Linked DNA regions of Homo sapiens: all the other regions are linked to region 2. The links are contacts of gene promoters, found by promoter capture Hi-C in blood cells and fetal thymus (Javierre and others, 2016). All regions are on one chromosome and are shown on one strand. The core of a region is centred on a gene start or on the middle of the fragment in contact, and the rest is flanking DNA. Distances in the headings are between cores, read along the strand shown. Region 1 overlaps UBE2L6 (ubiquitin conjugating enzyme E2 L6). Region 2 holds the start of PRG2 (proteoglycan 2, pro eosinophil major basic protein). Region 3 has its middle 12 kb from the start of MIR130AHG.

Region 1 (2,500 bases), core at 1-2,500, 170 kb before region 2:
TCCACTCTGGGGTTCAAGCGATTCTCCTGCCTCAGCCTCCTGAGTAGCTGTGACTACAGGCACGTGCCACTATGCCTGGCTAATTTTTGTGTTTTTAGTGGAGACAGGATTTTGCTATGTTGGCCAGGCTGGTCTCAAACTCCTGGCCTCAAGTGATCTGCCCACCTCGGCCTCCTAAAGTGCTGGGATTACAGGTGGAGCCACCACACCCGGCAGGATTTACTTTTTATTGACAATGCAGTGGCCTAGGTTGTGTCGTCTTCTCTTTAAACTGACCTATAGTCCAGAAAAGTAGAGAAAGGCCTGAGTCAGGTCAACATGGGAACCTCTGTCAAGTCCCTTGGGTTACTGTGTTGAAACGATCCACTTACCTGGCTTAGAGTGAGGACACCTGTTCTAGGCCTCAGGTGCCGGGAGAAGATGCTCAAAGGAGCTCCAGGGACTGATTATATCTCCAAGGAGACCAACTTTGAGATGATGAAAGCAGGGGTGATAGGAAAACCTAGGAAAGGTCTCGTTTGGCAGAGTACTATGAAATCAGAGGACCTCAATAGTTGGCAAGACCAAGGTGGTTAAGTGCGCCCCAGGAACTGGCCACAGACCTTCCAGCCATATAGGAGTCCTGAAGAAACATGATACTTGGGAGGAATCCCAGAGCTGGAGGACCAAAGCTTGATGTAAGTCATCAGCTAAGGGGGCCTGAAGGTGCCTGGTGAGGCCATAAAGGAGGGGATGGTTGACTGGCAGAGGAAGGAGAACCAGGAAAGGTCTTTTGGAATAGCACACAAATTCCTCCTCAAAGGCTCAGTCTCAGTTTATGTGTTCACCAAAGTGGCCCCACTTGTCACATCTTGGTCATGGAAGGATTCAGCTCGATGAGTCTTTCGAAGCTAATAGTAAAATTCTCATTCCTTGAGAGTTTCCTGTGGACCAAGTGCTGTTTTAAGCACACGACATATGAGGTCATATTGAATCCTCTCAACCATCCAGTGAGGAAGGTTGTCTTCCTCTTAAAATTGCAGAGATGGAAACCAAGGAGGTTAAGTAACTGGTCTGGGGTCACTCAGAATAAGGTGGCAGGAGTGGAATTCAGCGGACTCCAGGGTCTTCTCTTTTAACCACTCCATGAAAAATGAATAGTTTTCAAAATTTTTTAAAAAGTAGCAGGCCGGGCACGGTGGCTTACACCTGTAATCCCAGCACTTTGAGAGGCTGAGGTGGGTGGATCACTGGAGGTCAGAAGTTTGAGACCAGCCTGGCCAACATGGTGAAACCCTGTCTCTAGTAAAAATACAAAAATTAGCTGGGCATGGTTGTGGGCACCTATAATCCCAGCTACTCAGGAGGCTGAGGCACGAGAATCACTTGAACCCGGGAGTTGGAGGTTGTAGTGAGCTGAGATTGGGCCATCGCACTCCAGCCTGGATGACAAGAGCAAAACTCTGTCTCAAAAAAACAAAACAAAATAAAGTAGCAAAATCCTTTATTTAACCTAGAACTTAGAAGGTAGTGGGACTTTCTCAACTGACTGTAAGATACAGCATGGAATCCTCTGGTCCAGCTTCTCCATTTTACAGACGAGGAAACTGATCCTCAGAGAAAGCTCAGTCATACAGCAAGCCCGAGGCAGAGCTGGGACAGGTCCCCGGAGCTCTCAGCTCCATGACTCTGCTACCTCCTTCCTCTGTTAAGTCCTACGAAGCCCAGAAAGAAGCCCCTTCAGGCAGGACACACTGATACCCCTGTCTTAGTCCATTAGTGTTGCTGTAAAGGAATACCCGAGGCTGAGTAATATATAAAGAAAAGAGGTTAATTTGGCTCAAGCTTCTGCAGGCTGTACAAGAAGCATGGCGCTGGGCATGGTGGCTCACGTCTATAATCCCATGTCTTTGGGAGGCCGAGGAGGGCGGATCACCTGAGGTCAGAAGTTCAAGACCAGCCTGACCAACATGGAGAAACCCTGTCTCTACCAAAAATACAAAATTAGCTGGGTGTGGTGGTGCATGCCTATAATCCCAACTAGTTGGGAGGCTGAGGCAGGAGAATCGCTTGAACCTAGGAGGCAGAGGTTGCGGTGAGCCGAGATCACGCCATTGCACTCCAGCCTGGGCAGCAAAGTGAAACTCCATCTCAAAAAAAAAAAAAAAAAGAAGCATGGCACCAGCATCTCCTTCTGATGAGGCCTCAGGAAGCTTCCACTCATGGTGGAAGGCAAAGGGGAGCCACGTGTACAGATCACATGCAAGAGAAGAAGTGAAAGAGAGAGAGAGCGAGCAGGTGCCAGGATCTTCTAAACAACCAGCTTTTTCAGTAAGTAATAGAGTAAGAACTCTCTTATGACTGTGAGGTTGGCACGGAGCCATTCCACGGAGCCATTCGTGGGAGGTCTGCCCCCAGGACCCATACGCCTCCTGGTAGGCCCCACCTCCAACATTGGGGATCAAATTCTTTTCTTTTCTTTCCTTTTTTTTTTTTTTGGTGACAGAGTCTCACTCTGGAG
Region 2 (3,966 bases), core at 525-3,024:
ACTGTACTAAGCACCAAGGATACAATGGTGAGTAAAGAGATGCAGCCTTCACCATCACGAAGGAAGACAGATGTTAATCCATTAACCAAGTAATCTCACAAGAAAAGTAAAATGACTAACTGATAAGGACAAGCCCCTGGAGCTACAAGAGGGTGTATACAGGGCATCGATCCAATAAGGGCAGTGTTGCGGGGAGATCAGGAGCCACACAGAGCCTGGGTTGTCTCACTTGGAAAATGGGGTATCAACCACCTACCTCACTAGGTTTTTAAAATCAGGTTAAATGAGGTAATACTTGCCATGAACAGTATTTTGTTGATTGATGATTGATTGAAACGGAGTCTCACTCTCTCGCCCAAGCTGGAGTGCAGTGGTGCAATCTCAGCTCACTGCAACCTCTACTTCCTGGGTTCAAGTGATTCTCCTGCCTCAGACTCCCAAGTAGCTGGGATTACAGGCAGCCACCCCTATGCCTGACTAATTTTTGTATTTTTAGTAGAGACAAGGCTTTGCAATGTTGACCAGGCTGGTCTCAACCTCCTGACCTCAAAAGATCCACCCACCTCAGCCTCCCAAAGTGCTGGGATCACAGGCATGAGCCACTGCATCCAGCCACTTGCCATGCATGGCATTTAAAAATGTTCAGTAAATGTTACCATAATGAAGGCTGGTAGGTTGGCCAACTGAGTGGTCTGATTCAGAAGGAAAGAAGTTAGACATACGTGAACATTTCCTGTACTTGAAGATCCTCAGGACAGTGACTCCTAGACCCATCTTCCATCACAGTCAGCTGGGAAGCTTTTAAAAAAATGCAGACATCTGACCTTCACGCTAGACCTATTAGCCAAGCAGAAGTTTCTGGGCAGGGCATCTGCATATTTTTAAAAATCTTTAATAAGGCAGCCTCAAAATTACAGATTCAGCACGCATTTACCATAACCACTGAAGAAATGCAAAGTTATAAAAAGAAGATAAACAACAATCTGTCTCCTGCTTTCTTCCCTCTCCTCCCCTGCTTCTGGAGGCAACAAGGTCAACTATTTGGTGTGATTCCTTTTAGCATTCCCTCCATCAATGGTCACATAAGGATGCTCACAGATAAGCACCTATGCGGGGGTTTTTTTTTTCCTTGTAAAACTATTCACATACTAAATACTTTCCTCAGTATCTTGCCTTTTTTCACTTCATGTCACAGAAACATCTCTTCAGGTTTATAGATACAGGTCCAGCTCTTCTTTTCATAGCCATATAACATTCTGTAGAATAGAGAGGACACATTTTACTCAGTGTCCGATTGATGGATATCAATATTGTTTTCATTTCTACAAATAGTCAAGGAATAACATAACTCTGTAAAAGTTTTATTACTTATAGGCGCATTTATGCCTAAAGGATAGTCTCAAAAGAGTGAAACTGATCAAATGTGCATTTTTTTATTTTAATAGGTATGGACAGATTTGTTCTCAAAATGTTTGTGGCAGTTCAAAACACCAGTAAAACAGGGGAGATATGTATTTTGGAAAAGCACCCAAGGCGATTCTGAAGTGTAGCCCAGGATAAGAACCATTGCCCAGAGCTGTTCCAGATGGCCCCTGGGTTCCTGAAGTGGGTATCGGGAGAGAAATCTTCACTGAATGAATGAGTGGGCTCCCCAGGGAAGTGATGAAATGGTCCTTATCAGCCTTGCTATCTCCCTCTGACAGAGGCAAACTCTCTCTCCCTGGGGGAAGTTCCTCCAAGGCCTCTATATAAGAAGTCTTTGTGAGAGGAAGCAAAGAAGGACCTGGGCTTTGGGAAGATCTAAAGACCCAGGAAGGTCTCTGGGTGGGTGAGTGCTTTCTCTGCTGTGGTGGAGCTGGTGACAGTTTATTCTCCCAGGAGGTCCCTGGCTGTGGCTGACAGTTTCTGGAGGGCTGGCAGGCGTCTACCTGTGGCTTTCAGGTTATGAGGATGTCAGCAGGGGCAGCCTTCATCCTCTGCCTTGCACATTCCTTCTGCGGGATGTGAAAGTGCTCCTTGGCTGGGGAAAGGAGATGGTGGAGACATGGAGGAGGGTGTGGGTGGCTTCTTGAACTCTGAGGAGGGGACATACCTTCTAAGTCCTATGTGTTCCTAGGAAAGCCAATAATCATTGCTTCTCCCGCCTTTTTTATGTCATAGACTCTGAGGGACCCATTAAGTACAAACAAATAAGCGTAATAGTCCCTTCTTTACTTCCGGGCCTGAAGGAAAGCCAGCCTCAGCCACCCCTCAGGGTTTGCTGCGTTCTGTTTAGAAAGAGGTCCTTGCGTCCTGGATCCTGGAGCATCAGGAGCTGGGCTTGGCATGAGCTTTTCTGGCCCATCCTGATTTCTATTCAGGCCTTCTTTTTCTCCACCTCACTCCCACGGTCCCCTAATGGTGTGATTGTGATGTGTGTGCATGTGTGTCTGTGTGTGTCAATGACAAACTGTGTTCTCCGTTGCAGGATAAAGCCAAGATGAAACTCCCCTTACTTCTGGCTCTTCTATTTGGGGCAGTTTCTGCTCTTCATCTAAGTAAGTGTTTTTTGCCTTCAGTCTTTCTTTCTCTGTTTTTTCCCTTTCTATGGTAGATGGGGTCAGAGTTACACACCCACCCCCTTCTTTGATCGTCTTCTATTTCTGAATTTCTGTGTGCTTAAAGGGATGGGGACTCTATGGCCAGGAGTTGAAAGGATTTCTCAAGGCGTCTGTTATGTCTGTGGTCTTGGTTCTACTGTGACATTCCCAATTTTGTCCTTTCTCCATTATGCTTACTTTGAGCTTACTGAGTGCCTTCTCTCCTTTAACTCTCTTAGCATCGCCATGAAGTAGGTGGTATTGTATACCCATTTCACAGAAATACAGCTGGTGGATGATGGAACCAGTACCCAAGCCCATGACTGCCCGACTCTAAGTCCATGCTCTTAACCACCTTGACCTTGTCAGGCAGCTTGGGTTCCCCTCATAGAGACTGGGTTCCAGGTTCCCCTTCCCAGGCAGAGTTGAGCACTCTGATGCCCAGGGCAAGGTGTGAGCTGTCTGTGGTTCTGGGGAGGAACAAGGGGAGATGTGAAGGAAGGACACTTAGCTATCCTCCCTGCCAGGGTCTGAGACTTCCACCTTTGAGACCCCTTTGGGTGCTAAGACGCTGCCTGAGGATGAGGAGACACCAGAGCAGGAGATGGAGGAGACCCCTTGCAGGGAGCTGGAGGAAGAGGAGGAGTGGGGCTCTGGAAGTGAAGATGCCTCCAAGAAAGATGGGGCTGTTGAGTCTATCTCAGTGCCAGATATGGTGGACAAAAACCTTACGTGTCCTGAGGAAGAGGACACAGTAAAAGTGGTGGGCATCCCTGGGTGCCAGACCTGCCGCTACCTCCTGGTGAGAAGTCTTCAGACGTTTAGTCAAGCTTGGGTGAGTGGCCTATGGCTGAGGCTGAGGTGGGAGCATGGAACGGGTGTGGGATATGCCCCCAGCATTGCTATCACTGGCTCTTTTTCCCATTGAGGGCCCTGGGGGTGTCAGTAGAACCTGAGCCTCAGAGAGGTGTTGGGGTAAGAGGGGAGGGCCACCTACAAACAGAAGTTGCATTTTGGTCTCCAACCTTCAAATGGTTGTGGCAGGGGAGGGAGGGAATGAATTGTGGGGACTCAAGACCCATGTGAATTCATGTAGGAAGGATGCTCCATTCTTTGTCTTTTATCCTGCCCTGTAGTTTACTTGCCGGAGGTGCTACAGGGGCAACCTGGTTTCCATCCACAACTTCAATATTAATTATCGAATCCAGTGTTCTGTCAGCGCGCTCAACCAGGGTCAAGTCTGGATTGGAGGCAGGATCACAGGCTCGGTAAGAGAAGTGTGAACACTAAATGGGGTGCACCTGCTGATCTCAGCCAGCACTCAGCTTGCATCAGATTTGTCTGTTTTTCTCCTGTATAATCTCCAGAAGAACCAGGGATAGATGGA
Region 3 (3,954 bases), core at 847-3,346, 240 kb before region 2:
CACAGTCATGCTTCCTGTTAAGCCTGTAAAACTGTGAGTCAATTAAACCTCTTTTCTTCATAAATTACCGAGTCTTATGTAGTTCTTTATGGCAATGTGAGAATGGACTAATACAGGTATACATCTCAAGGGGATCGTGAACCCTCTGGAGTTCATTCACATACCACTGCCCCCAACACACGCTCTAATCTCCTCCAGGTCAGAACTTCTTCAAGAGGATACATTCCAAACTTCTTAGCATGGAACTCAAGGCCTTCCAAACTTATTCCGAGTTGCCTGTCTAGCTGCACCTACCACCTGTGCTGTTATGATTATTTTGTGTCTAATTCCTCATCAGACCAAGATGCTCCCTGAGAGCAGAGATTGTGCCCTTTCATTTTTCCTTTTTACATTTCCCCAGATCAAATGAAAGTTTCTCAGGAGGAGTAATCTGAACCCTTGGCCTAGCTAGAAAAATCGTTGATTGACTGCTAGACATGACTAATTTCCAGCCAGCCAGAGGGTTTTAGGGTCATGAGCCTAGTGAATATAACTACAATGTTCTATTCTCCAAATATATTTGGGGAGAGCTTTGATTCAAAATTTTCAGTTTTAGCGGATCCCATAAATATGGAGACTTCTGAGACCTTGTGCCATGATTTTAGTTTAGAAAATGTAGGTCCTCAGTGGTGAACTTACCACATTTGCCAGTTAATTAGTGCCAGGGATCTCTTTTTGGTAGCTACAGCTCTTTGGACCCTGGAGAAACTGAAAGAACTAGTCTGGTTTGTGGATTCTTAGGAGAATTTACTGATTTCATAATGTAGCCCTGACCTAATCCCAAACCCCAAGATAAGCCAGGGCAGGACTGTCTCCCACATTACTCCAAAGTGGACATTCTAAGGAAATCTTAGGCAAGAGAAAATCAGTCTTCCACGGCCACATTTCAAAATTTTCCCCACATTTCAATTGTTTTCCCACATCCCCTACACACACTGGGACACTTCATATCACATGGAGAGAAGTGAAGGGAGACATTACCAGTCCATTAAAGTTCAGAGAACAAGAGCTCTGTCTTGTTGAACAGTTTGTCCGCTGCCACAACAGTGCCTAGCACAAGTAAGTACTCAATTAAAACTTGAATAAATGAATGGGAAAATGGCAGAAGTCCTGACCTCAGAGGATCCACCCGCCTTGGCCTCCCAAAGTGCTGGGATTACAGGTGTGAGCCACCACACCTGGCCTCTTAAAAAAAAAAAATAGGACTTTAGGAGGCTGAGGCGTGCGGATCATAAGGTTAGGAGTTCGAGACCAGCCTGGCCAATATGGTGAAACCCCGTCTCTACTAAAAATACGAAAATTAGCTGGGCGTGGTGGTGGGCGCCTGTAGTCCCAGCTATTCGGGAGGCTGAGGCAAGAGAATTGCTTGAATCCAGGAGGCGGAGGTTGCAGTGAGCCGAGATCGCAACACTGCACTCCAACCTGGGCGACAGAGCAAGATTCCATCTCAAAAAAAAAAAAATTAAAATAGCTGGGCATGGTGGTGCGGGCCTGTGGTCCCAGCTACTCAGGAAGCTGAGGTGGGACCTGAGCTTGAGCCCAGGACCTCAAGGCTGCAGTGATCTATGATTGAGGCAGGAGAATAGGGCCTGGAGGCAGAGAACCTAAGGACTTTCTAGAACTAAATCAAATGGAAACACTTCAGCTGTGACAGGAAATATCCTCTTGTTTACATAGGGTGTACACAGAGTAAATGACTTTGTAACTTTCCTTCATCCTCTTCATTTACATAAGGCGTACACCAAGTAACCAATGGAAACCTCGGCTCACTGCAACCTTGGCCTCCCAGGTTCTAGCGATTCTCCTGCTTCAGCCTCTTGAGTAGCTGGGATTACAGGTGTGCACCACCACACCTGACTAATATTTGTATTTTTAGTAGGGATGGGCTTTCTCCATGTTGGCCAGGCTGGTCTTGAACACATGACCTCAGGTGATCCACCCGCCTTGGCCTCCCAAAGTTCTGGGATTACAGGCGTGAGCCACCGCACCTGGCCAGTAGATAATATGTATAAATTAGTGGAAAGCAAGAAGGCCTCTAGGACGATAACAAAGTATAGATTCTCTTTAGACGGCCTATTTGAGTAGATAAGGCAATTCACAGGGCTGTGGCCTTGTTTAATCCTAGAACAATTCCAGACTCCAGGTGCTTACTTACTTAAAGGGTAAGAATCATCTTCACCCCTTCTGACTAAAGCCATGGAGTCCTGATCCCAAGAATCAAAGACACGGGGCAGCAGGGAGGAGGAAAGAACATCCAAACACAGAGGTATAATTCCTCTAGTTGAAAGATAATTTGTAAGGCAAAACCCTAGCTGATAATGACTATGAGAAGCTATGCTTTGGTATTCCTAGCTCCACCAGTCTCCAGAGGAGATACATAAAATAAGAATAACATTAATGTCATCATTGTAAAATAAAAAACTTTGCTTGGCCATGTGCGGTGGCTCACACTTGTAATCCCAGCACTTTGGGAGGCTGAGGCGGGTGGATCATCTGAGGTCAGGAGTTTGAGAGCAGCCTGGCCAACGTAGTGAAACCCCATCTCTACTAAAAATACAAAAAATTAGCCGGGCATGGTGGCAGGTGCCTGTAATCCCAGCTACTTGGGAGGCAGAGGCAGGAGAATTGCTTGAACCCAGGAGGCGGAGCTTGCAGTGAGCCAAGATTGTGCCAACTCCAGCCTGGGCAACAAGTGCAAAACTTTGTCTCTAAACAAAACGAAACAAAACAAAACAAAACTTTGCTCAAATATAGACACTGCACACTTTGAATCAAAAGTGTTTGCTGACCATTTATAGGCATAGGTGGGACCAGAGATGTCCTGAATCAGATTCACAAGGAGTTTCCTAGTGGTTGGAGGGGAAAGCCAAATATTTGTGTACATGCTACTGATTTTACATGGCAGTGTAAGTTCAGCACTATGTCTAAAGATGGAGGAGGTGCTATTGGCTGGGAAAAGCAGAAAACACTGTTGGAGAATTGCACTGGGCTTAGAAGAATGGCAGCATTTAAATGAACAGGATCTGTAGAGACCAGGCTGGTGGCTCATGCCTGTAATCCCAGCACTTTGGGAGGCCAAGGCGGGCAGATCACTTGAGGTCAGGAGTTCGAGACCAGCCTGGCCAACGTGGTGAAACCCTGTCTCTACTAAAAATGCAAAAATTAGTCGGGCGTGGTGGCGTGTGCCTCTAATCCCAGCTACTTGGGAGGCTGAGGCAAGAGAATCACTTGAACCCAGGAGGCCAGAGGTTGCAGTGAGCTAAGATCGTGCCACTGCACTCCAGTCTGGGCAACAGAGCGAAACTCTGTCTCAATAAATAAATAAATAAATAAATAAATAAATAAATAGGATCTGGAAATGCATTTTTGTTCTGTTTTGTTTTGCTTCATTTTATTTTAGCTAATATGTACTGAGTGTCAACTCTGTAGGTTCCAGGCTCCATGCTCAGAACAGAGGATAATGACAAAAAGATACGGTCCCTGCCTCCTAGGAGATTTTAAAAATTATTTCAGCAAGAGGGCAAGTGTTCTAGTGAGGTTCACTCTGGGCCCCAGAGGAATCGCCAGGAAACTCAGTTCTGATGAAGCAGAGCTAGATGGCCAGGGACTGGGGCTCCAGGCCTGACAGTCTGGCTGTAGCAGCAGAGTAGGAATCGGCTCTGATGCTGCTCCCTGAAGCCAGCCGGCAGACAGGCTCACTGTGACCATGACCACACCATCGTGGTCCATGGACAGGAACCATCCTCACCCTGGTGGTCCTGTTGCCATGCATTTTCTGCTAAGCCCCTAACCCATAGCCCTTGGGAATGGTATTTGGTCTACTATATTAGTCTACTCTGGGACTAATATAGACTTTGGTTCTTTTTATTTATTTATTTTTTGAGACAGGGTCTCACTCTGTTGCCCAGGCTGGAG

The links. Contacts are between HindIII fragments. The CHiCAGO score rates a contact against its expected background, and 5 or more counts as called.
Region 1: a fragment that was not itself captured here is called in contact with the fragment with the promoter of PRG2 in region 2 in 1 of 17 cell types (M1 macrophages); the score reaches 6.6 in M1 macrophages.
Region 3: a fragment that was not itself captured here is called in contact with the fragment with the promoter of PRG2 in region 2 in 1 of 17 cell types (neutrophils); the score reaches 5.7 in neutrophils.

The regions. Positions count from the first base shown.
Region 1 is chr11:57,557,045-57,559,544 of GRCh38, reverse strand. The region is part of intron 2 of UBE2L6 (ubiquitin conjugating enzyme E2 L6); the gene reads left to right. Among named protein-coding and RNA genes, the nearest start is that of UBE2L6, 9.4 kb to the left of the region's middle. The HindIII fragment of the contact is 1,153 bases long and covers 674-1,826 here.
Region 2 is chr11:57,388,458-57,392,423 of GRCh38, reverse strand. PRG2 (proteoglycan 2, pro eosinophil major basic protein) reads left to right here and starts at 1,774. Exons shown (of 6, transcript NM_002728.6): 1 at 1,774-1,828; 2 at 2,468-2,537; 3 at 3,107-3,414; 4 at 3,716-3,847. The coding sequence starts at 2,480. The HindIII fragment of the contact is 2,611 bases long and covers 801-3,411 here.
Region 3 is chr11:57,623,964-57,627,917 of GRCh38, reverse strand. No RefSeq gene overlaps it. Among named protein-coding and RNA genes, the nearest start is that of MIR130AHG, 12 kb to the left of the region's middle. The HindIII fragment of the contact is 8,519 bases long and covers 1-3,954 here.